Regions from separate parts of the Homo sapiens genome. Here regions 1 and 3 are each linked to region 2. The links are contacts of gene promoters, found by promoter capture Hi-C in human tissues and cell types (Jung and others, 2019). All regions are on one chromosome and are shown on one strand. Each heading gives the region's core, a stretch centred on a gene start or on the middle of the fragment in contact. The rest is flanking DNA. Distances are from core to core; before and after follow the strand shown.

The links. Contacts are between HindIII fragments. The study calls those that stand out against the background at their distance.
Region 1: a contact is called between a fragment that was not itself captured here and the fragment with the promoter of SREBF1 in region 2, in 2 of the 25 tissues and cell types used here (dorsolateral prefrontal cortex and hippocampus).
Region 3: a fragment that was not itself captured here is called in contact with the fragment with the promoter of SREBF1 in region 2 in 2 of the 25 tissues and cell types used here (IMR-90 fibroblasts and dorsolateral prefrontal cortex).

What each region holds. Positions count from the first base shown.
Region 1 is chr17:17,585,450-17,588,407 of GRCh38, reverse strand. All of the region lies in intron 1 of PEMT (phosphatidylethanolamine N-methyltransferase), which reads left to right. It also overlaps the pseudogene EEF1A1P43. Among named protein-coding and RNA genes, the nearest start is that of PEMT, 4.8 kb to the left of the region's middle. The HindIII fragment of the contact is 6,883 bases long and covers 1-2,958 here.
Region 2 is chr17:17,834,973-17,838,364 of GRCh38, reverse strand. It overlaps SREBF1 (sterol regulatory element binding transcription factor 1), which reads left to right and starts at 1,379. Exons shown (of 19, transcript NM_004176.5): 1 at 1,379-1,638. The coding sequence starts at 1,548. RefSeq lists enhancers at 1-699, 700-1,602, 1,603-2,504 and silencers at 1,371-1,530, 1,721-2,000. The HindIII fragment of the contact is 17,140 bases long and covers 1-3,392 here.
Region 3 is chr17:18,068,939-18,071,969 of GRCh38, reverse strand. No RefSeq gene overlaps it. Among named protein-coding and RNA genes, the nearest start is that of DRG2, 17 kb to the left of the region's middle. The HindIII fragment of the contact is 6,284 bases long and covers 1-3,031 here.

The DNA.
Region 1 (2,958 bases), core at 308-2,807, 250 kb after region 2:
TGTAATATGGGCACCCGAGTAAGACCCTGGAGGCAAAGCTCCGATGGCCGATGCGGGGTATCTTGACTGCCTTTCAGGGAAAAATGTTTGCCTTTATCCAAAATCGTTTCCAAAAATCTTTTGATTGTATTACTTTAGTTGAAATAAACATTAGGCCGTTATATTAGATGAGTTACTCTGTGGTGTTTTCAAGGCCGTACATTTTGTCTTCAGTAATTTTGGCATCAGCCAAGACAGAGCAGGGTTGAGGCTTTCCGTGGCTGCTCATCAAAACAATGACAGAAACTCTTGGAGCTTGTTTCCCCTGCCTCTGTTGAGATGACACTGTTTTTCCTCATTAAGCTGTAAATATGAATTCCATTGATGTTTTGAATGTTGAACTAGCTCTGGATTCCTGGGGTGATCTCTGGCTGGTCCTAACATATTATCCTTTGTATATATTGCTGGATTTGATTTGCTCTAATTTTTGGGGGGATCTTCTTTCTTTATCTGGTTTCATTTGATTTAATTAATTTATTTATTTTAAGACAGAGTCTCGCTCTGTTGCTCAGGCATGTACTCAGGAATGCAGTGGCGTGATACCAGCTCATTGCAACCTCCGCCTCCCGAGTTCAAGCAATTCCCCCACCTCAGGCTCCCGAGTAGCTGGGATTACAGGTGCACCTACCACCACACCTGGTTTTTGTTTTGTTTTGTTTTGTTTTTTGTATTTTTAGTAGCGACAGGGTTGTTGGCCAGGCTGGTCTCAAACTCCTGACCTTAAGTGATCCACCCACCTTGGCCTCCCAAAATGCTGGGATTACAGGCGGTGAGCCACTGCACCCGGCCTGGTTTTAGTGTTAGGGTAATACAGTGAGTTGGGAAGTATTGCCTCCCTCTTCCATATTCTGGAAGAGATTGTGTGGAATTGGAATTATTTTTTCCTTAAATGTTAGGCAGAATTCATCCAGGAAACCATCTGGGCTCAAGGCTTTCTTTTTTTAGGTTTTTAAGCCATAAATTCAAATCCTTTAAAAGATAAAGGATTATTTCTTGAATGAATTTTGACAGTTGTGTCTTGCAAGGATCGGTTCATTTCATCTAAGTTACTTAATTTGTGTTATTCATAGTATTCCCTTATTATTACTTTAATGTTTGTGAGGTCAGTAGAGAAGTCCCCCCTTTTATTTCTGATATTGATATTTTGTGTCTTTTCTCTTTTTTTCTTGGTCAGGCTGGCTGGAGGTTTCTCAGTTTTATTGGGAAAATAAATTTTCCCCAAAGAACCAGCTTTGGGTGTAATTTTTTTTTCTCTATTGTTTTCCTGTTTTCAATTTGATTGATTTTTGCTTATCTTTAATTTTTTGTCCTGCCTCCTTTGGGTTTAACTCATTCCTCTTTCTCTAATTTCTTTCTTTCTTTTTTTGAGACGGAGTCTTCCTCTGTTGCCCAGGCTGGAATGCAGTGGTGCAATCTCGGCTCACTGCAACCTCCGTCTCCCGGGTTCAAGCAATTCTCCTGCCTCAGCCTCCCAAGTAGCTAGGATTACAGGCGCCCTCCACCACGCCTGGTTAATTTTTGTATATTTAGTAGAGATGGGGTTTCACCATGTTGGCCGGGCTGGTCTTGAACTCCTGACCTCAAGTAATCTGCCTGCTTCAGCCTCCCAAAGTACTGGGATTATAGGCATGAGCCACTGCGCCCAGCCACTCTTTCTGTAATTTCTTAAGGGCAAAGCTTATATTCCTGACCTGGGACTTTTCTTCCTTACTAATAGAAGCCCTGCCTTAGCCGCATCCCACAGGGTTTCATGTGTTCTATTCTCATTTTCATTCAGTTCAAAATGTTTCTAGATTTCCCAAGACTTCCCATTTGGCCCTCGCGTGCATTCTTTCCACGATCGCTTTCTGTGACTGATTTCGAGTTTAATTCTGTGGTGGTTTGGGAGCATACTGTGTATGCTTTCTATTCGTTTAAATTTAAGGTTTGTTTGGTGGCCCCAAGTGTGATCTGTTTTGGTGACACCAGAGACTGCAGGCTGTTCCCAAGGCTGCCATGTGCTGTGGTCAGGTCCAGCCACTGGATGGCGCTGCTCAGGTCAGCTGCGTCCTCCCGATTTTCCACCTGCGTTTTTTTTTTTCTTTCTTTCTTTCTTTCTTTCTTTCTTTCTTTCTTTCTTTCTTTCTTTCTTTCTTTCTTTCTTTCTTTCTTTTTCTTTCTTTCTTTCTTTCCTTCCTTCTTTTTCTTTTTCTTTCTTTCTTTTTCTCTTTCTTTTTCTTTCTTTCTTTCTCATTAGATTTTTTTTAATGGGTCTCAAAAATCTGTGACAATTTTTTTTTTTTTTTTGAGACGGAGTCTCGCTCTGTCGCCCAGGCTGAAGTGCAGTGGCGCCATCTTGGGTCACTGCAAGCTCCACCTCCCGGGTTCACGCCATTCTCCTGCTTCAGCCTCCCGAGTAGCTGGGACTACAGGCGCCTGCCACCACGCCCAGCTAATTTTTTTAATTTTTTAGTAGAGACGGGGTTTCACCGTGTTAGCCAGGATGATCTCGATCTCCTGACTTCATGATACGCCCGCCTCAGCCTCTCAAAGTGCTGGGATTACAGGCATGACTCACCGCGCCCGGCCCGACAAATTTTTGGTCAAGTTGTTTCCATTCAAAAGTACTGATTTTAAAAACTAATAACTTAAAACTGCCACAGGCAAAAAAGAAAACCAAAGTGGTCCACAAAACATTTTCCTTTCCTTCTAAAGGTTTTATGATGCATTGTTATCATTAACCAGTCTTTTACTACTAAATTTAAATGGTCAATTGAAACAAACAGTTCTGAGACGTTCTTCACCACTGATTAAGAGCGGGGTGGCAGGTATTAGGGATAATATTCATTTAGCCTTCTGAGCTTTCTGGGCAGACTTGGTGACCTTGCCAGCTCCAGCAGCCTTCTTGTCCACTGCTTTGATTCTCTCAGTCACTGAGAG
Region 2 (3,392 bases), core at 130-2,629:
GCGACCCCTATGACTTCTGGCGCCGCTATTCTGGGTAATTTTCCACCGCAGCCACTTCTGGGAGAGGAACAAAGGGAGCTGGATGTCCAGGCTGAGCCCCAGGGACTTGGGCTCTGTGGCTTCTCTCCCCCACACACCCCTTCTAAAATGCATCATGAATGTTACTCCTGCTTAGGGCGTGGCCAGATAGGCTATATCTGGAGTTTGAGCAAGGCAGTCTGCAGGATGGCTTGACTTATGAAGGTCTGGGGTCGGGAAGGCCTGAGGCCCAGGCCCCTGATGAGTTTCCTGGACTGCCCTCCACCAAGGGTGCTTCTCTCTGCTTGCATACCTCTGGGGACAGGGAGCTCACTGCCTTATCACATTCAGATTCCTGAATGTTAATTCTGGTTTATTTCAACCCACCTCATTGGGACCCCTTCCCTCCTTCCTGCCCCACCTGGCTCTGTCCCTAGGCCACAGAACCAGGTTCGGTTTCCAGCCCTCTTCTCAACAGGGCTGCCTGCTCTGATCTAGTCCCAGCTTGTGATGATCCAGGGCAGCCTGGCTCTGATCTAAAGCACAGCTACCTCTTCCTTGCGGCCCCTATCCTGGCTGCTCCTGGGAATAAGTGCCAAATCTGGGGTCAGACAGCCCTGGGGCCAGTCTTCCTTGGGTACTGGCTTCCTCCTTCAGGAGCTGCACTGGGCCCACTGGTATCCTATCCCTACAGCTGGATCTGGGAGGAAACCAGATGACGAAATTCCAGCCTCTTTCTTTGGCCACTCCTGTCCTCAAGAGGCCAATCTTCTGGTTTCTTTGCAGAGAGGGGGCAGGCTGATCTCACAGGTCATGCTCCCCTCCACATTGTCACTAGCCTCCCAGCCTGCCCGTGAGAAAGCATCATTAGGCCCATGTTACAAATGAGGAAAATTGAGGCAGAGTGATGTAACTGGCCCAGCAGTTACATCAGGCCTGCTCACAACACAGCAGGCCTGGGACCCCTATAACTTGGATCCTGGTCTGTCTTGTTCTAAAGAGTCAAATCTAGGAAATGAGGAAATGAAGTTTGGGATGGGCCCAGGCCTGGGGCTTCCACTCGGCTTCCTTGCTTGGTGCTGGAGAAACAGAGGCCCAGAGAGGGGGCTCGGCTTGCCCGCGTTCCCGCAGCAGCCGGCCAGAGGCCGCTGCCATTGTGCGCGAGGCTGGATAAAATGAATGACTGGAGGGCGCTCTGGAGGAGGGGCCGGCTGAGGGGAGATTTGTGGCGCAGACCGGGGATCAGGGGTCCCCCGCTCTCTCAAGGTGGGGCGGGGCCGTCTATCTGGGAGGGCGGGTCCTCCCCGAAAGGCCCCGCCTCCGCCTCGACCGCCCAGCAGAGCTGCGGCCGGGGGAACCCAGTTTCCGAGGAACTTTTCGCCGGCGCCGGGCCGCCTCTGAGGCCAGGGCAGGACACGAACGCGCGGAGCGGCGGCGGCGACTGAGAGCCGGGGCCGCGGCGGCGCTCCCTAGGAAGGGCCGTACGAGGCGGCGGGCCCGGCGGGCCTCCCGGAGGAGGCGGCTGCGCCATGGACGAGCCACCCTTCAGCGAGGCGGCTTTGGAGCAGGCGCTGGGCGAGCCGTGCGATCTGGACGCGGCGCTGCTGACCGACATCGAAGGTGCGTCAGGGCGGGCAGGGCTTGAAGCTGCGCCGGGTGGCGCGAGTAGGGGGCGCGCAGGTGTCTCCCTGGCCTTTGTCTCCCCCACGGGCGCCAGCTCCGTGCTGTGCTCGCGCGGGACTTCCCGGTGTCTCTGAGCTCGGTGTCCCGAGCCTCACCGAGCCTCCCTGGTTCCCGCGCTAGCGTCTCGGGCCGCGCGCTTGTGGGTGAGGGCTCCTGGGCCGGGCCGGGGTCCCTTGGCGGCTCCGGGCCGGGACACGTGCGCCTCTACGCGTCCCAGGCCGGGTGCCGCCCGACCGGTGACTCTCCAGCCCTGTGATGGCCACGGCTGAAGCTGGGGACCCAGGCGTCGCCGAAGCTCCGCCCCAGCCCCAGCCGTGACGTAATTGCGAGGTTACTCACGGTCATTCCCTCCGGCCCGAGAGTTCAGCTCGGCGTCGGAGCTCTTGCGCATGCGCATGGGCGCTGCCTCGCGCCCTTCCCCCGCCTCGTGTCGGGTTCTCCCGGTCTGCGACGGGCACAGCCTCCGCACTCATTCACTGACATCCACCGAATGCCAGGCCCCGTCTTAGGCACCGAGGGTTTACAGACAGACCTGGGTACCCCCTCTTTTAGGGAACACAAAAATCTCCCGGGAAACCAAACGGGTATTTAGTTGTACCTTGGGTGGAGCGAGGCTGGGGGAGGGCAGGGATGTGGCTACTTTGGGTAGAGCGGTCAGGGACTTCTAAGCTGAGACCTGAGGGTCACCCCCAGGACCAGCAAGGAAAGATGTTTTCCAGGCCACGGCAAGGGAAGGGCAAAGGCCTCGAGGCAGGGCCTAAGTGTGAGGAGTTAGAGGCTTGCAAAGGAGTGAGGTCAGGGAGGAGGAGGACGCAAACCGACTTGGTCGGCCAGGGAAAGGGCGGAGCAGAACAGTGGCACCGGCTTCCATCTTTGGAGCATCACCCTGGCTGTGATGAGAAGGGGTTTGGGGCCAATGGTGGCACCAAGTGCCAATTAGGAGGCCCGTTGCTTCCATTTTGTAGATAGAGCAAACGGAAGCCCCTAGCAAATTGCCTGCATGGTTTCTGTGCAGGAGTTTTAGCAGCACTAGCTAAGTTGCACTTGGTTGATGAGGAAACTGAGGCCAAGGTCGCAGGAACAAGATGCCTAGACTCACAGCCTGAATGGACATGTCCATGGAACCCGTGGCCACCCTGGGGTTGGCAAAACAGATATATCTATGCCACCACCACTCCTGCCCTACTGCAGCCTTGCAGATGAGCCCAGCTGGTTGCCAGCCCCAGAAGCTTCCCAGCCCTCCCTCCTTCCCCCTGGGGCTGGGCTAGGGGAGGACCCCAGAGGAGAGGCCCTGATTGTGAGGCTTTTCCAAAACAGCCTCCCCTATCCCTGGCACGAGGGGTTGTCCTTCACTGCCCTCTGGAGTGATGAACCCTGAAATCCCAAGCCCTAGGGAGATCTGGGCCTGACTCAACTACCAGTTCCACATCACTGGGCCCAGTGAGTGTAGTCCCAAGAGGCAACGTGACCAAGCCAGGAGGACATGCGCTTTGGGGTCAGAACTTGAACCTGGACACTCCTCACTTCCTTTGTCATCCTGCTCAAGCCCTCTCACCCTCTAAACCTTAGTTTCCACCTCCAGAAAAATGATGCAAACCCTCCCTTCATGGGCAAGTTGGACAACAGAACCCGTTCTGGGCCACAGGTCTGATACAGACCTTTGTTTGTTTGTTTGTTTGTTTTCTGCAGTG
Region 3 (3,031 bases), core at 339-2,838, 230 kb before region 2:
AACAGCCCAAATGTTCATCAACAGATGGATAAAATGTGTTATATACATACAATGGAGTATCAGCCATAGCATAGAAAGAAATTCTGACACATTCTACAAGTGAAAAAAACCAGTCACACAAAGATAAATACTATTATGATTTCATTTCTATGAGGGATCTAGACAAATTCATGGGGACAGAAAATAGAATGGTGGTTATCAGGACTAGGGGGAGGAATGGGGATTTAGATAGCGTTTACTGAGTCCAGAATTTCTTTAGGATGATGGAAAACTTCTGGAAACAGTGGTGATAGGAACACAATGTGAATGTACTTAATACTACTGAACTGTACACTTATGAGTGGTTAAAGTGGTAAATTTTATGTAATACACATTTTACCACAATAAACAAAGCCTCATTACATATAATTTGCAGAAAACCCCTCCCCCTGCAGAAATAACCAAACCAACAACCCATTTCTAGCCCACTCCCCTGACAGCTACTTCCTATTTATTTTCTTTCCTTATGCAGCACAACTCTGCAAGCTACTCACATCAAGCTAAAATAAGCGAGAGAGAGACTGACACTCCAAAACAAAAAGTTTATTTGAGAATAGCAAGGGGTTGCAATCTGGGGTATATGGTTGGGGAAAGGGGAATGAATCTTTTAGAGGTAAAAAGGAGAAGTCCGTGTAAGCTGTTTTAAGACAGAGAACATTGTTCACAGGGGCTTCTCACAGGCTCCAGTTCCCAGCTCCCTTGCAGTGTGGTGACTGTGTGAATGGCCAGAAGCCACACTTAGTCCACCAACACCACAAGCCTGAAAGCCTTTCTCTCATTTCAGGGCGGGAGGCTCACTTAGTTACGCTCAAAGCTTCCTGTGCGTTGGAGTCACCCGGGGAGCTTTAAAAACATCGACAGGTTGTGAGGACTGGTCTGCATGCTGCCTGACATTAAATCAGCTCCCATGTGCTTCTGAAGTGCAGCCAGGTTTCAGAAACACTGCTCCAGGTCAAGCCAGTGAGAAGGCATGAAGATGGAGGGGCTGTGGAGCGATTATGGAGAGAAACCATGACTAATGCATTGAAAAATGAAGCGAACTGAAAAATCAGAAGGAAAAAAATGGCAAAAATAAACTTGAATCCAGCATATGTTTCTCTACAAATGAAAAGCCTTACATGTTTTCCCTGCTATGTACAAATAGGGAGTTTCAATCTTTCGATGTTTTGGAAGAAAAATCTGGAGGGAAAAGCTGTTCAACTGCAATCCAACTTTGAGGCTTTTTTTTTTAATTTTTATTTTTAAATATATCAAAGCCTACTGCCTATTTCATTACTGAGCAATTTTAATGCTTCCCTTCCCAGGTGCAGTTCAGATGAGTGGAGATAGCACTTTTTTTGTTGTTGTTTTTTTTGAGATGGAGTCTTTGCACTATCGCCCAGGCTGGAGTGCAGTGGCGCTATCTCGGCTCACTGCAAGCTCCGCCTCCCGGGTTCACGCCATTCTCCTGCCTCGGTCTCCTGAGTAGCTGGGACTACAGGGGCCTGCCACCACGCCCAGCTAACTTTTTGTATTTTTAGTAGAGACGGGGTTTCACCGTGTTAGCCAGGATGAGTCTTGATCTCCTGACCTTGTGATCCGCCCACCTTGGCCTCCCAAAGTGCTGGAATTACAGGCGTGAGCCACCGCGCCCAGCCGACAGCATTCTTATAGTTTTCCTTTTGTCCTGTTTTGCAATTGGTTTCACACTTAAAATCTACACAATTTCTACTATTTCTACAGTTCCTATAGATGGCCTAAAAACAAAGCTAACTAAAGGTTATAAATTGGGGATCTAAGAATCGAGATATGAAAGAGAGTTGCTATAGCTGTTGTAGACATGTTTTATTCCTGCATCACCCTCAATACCTACAATGGTGCATGTGGCAAGGCTCAGTAGATACTTTTTATTTATTTATATTTTTTTGAGATGGAATCTCATTCTGCCACTCAGGCTGGAGTGCAGTGGCACGACCTTGGCTCACTGCAACCTCTGCCTCCCTGGTTCAAGTGATTCTCCTGCCTCAGCTTCCTGGTAGCTGGGACTACAGGCACCCGCCACCATGCCCGGCTAGTTTTTGTATTTTTAGTAGAAATGGGGTTTCACCATGTTGGCTAGGCTGGTCTCGAACTCCTGACCTCAAGTGATCCTCCCACCTCAGCCTCCCAAAGTGCTGGGATTACTGGCATGAGCCACCGCACCCTGGCCCAGTAGATATTTTTATATTATTATTAAGCAAGAATAACTTTTTACATGTTATTCAATTTACAATTATTCTTATTCAATTTACAATGTGCTTTCAGGAGCATCTTCTAGAATCCTCAACAATTCTTTAGTCCAGACAGAGGTTTTCCACTTTCTGGGTGAGGGAAGTTGGGCTCAGGGAGGTTAGCTGATGTACCTTGAGGGCAGATTGGGACCCAAGGTTGATAGGTGGAACCCAGGCCTCCCATGACTTTTCCATTCAACAAAACAGCCAATAAATGGTGTCTTGGCTGGGTGTGGTGGCTCACACCTGTAATCCCAGCACTTTGGGAAGCTGAGGTGGGTGGACAGCTTGAGCCCAGGAGGTTAAGACCAGCCTGGGCAACATAGGGAGACCCCATCTTTACAGAAATAAAAAAAATTAGGTGGGCGTGGTCGCATGCCTGTGGTGCCAGCTACTTGGGAGGCTGATGCAAGAGGATCACCTGAGCCTGGGAGTCTGCAGTGAGCTGTGATAGCACCACTGCACTCCAGCCTGGTGATAGAGAGCTTGCCTCAAAAGATAAAAATAAATGGTGTCTTAAATCCTGAGTCCAGCACTGTGAACAGTCTATTCTTTTATTGACACCACATCTCATGGGAGAAAAAAGCTTATTATTGCTTAGACAATATGAGATCAGAAAATACACACAACAGGGGAGCTTTGCCCTGCCACTGATGTAAATTCCCTTAGCATTTCAACTTGCTTAAAATTTAGACCTCAACACTTTATATGTTTCCTCAAAATCTCCCATGTTTCCAGTCATG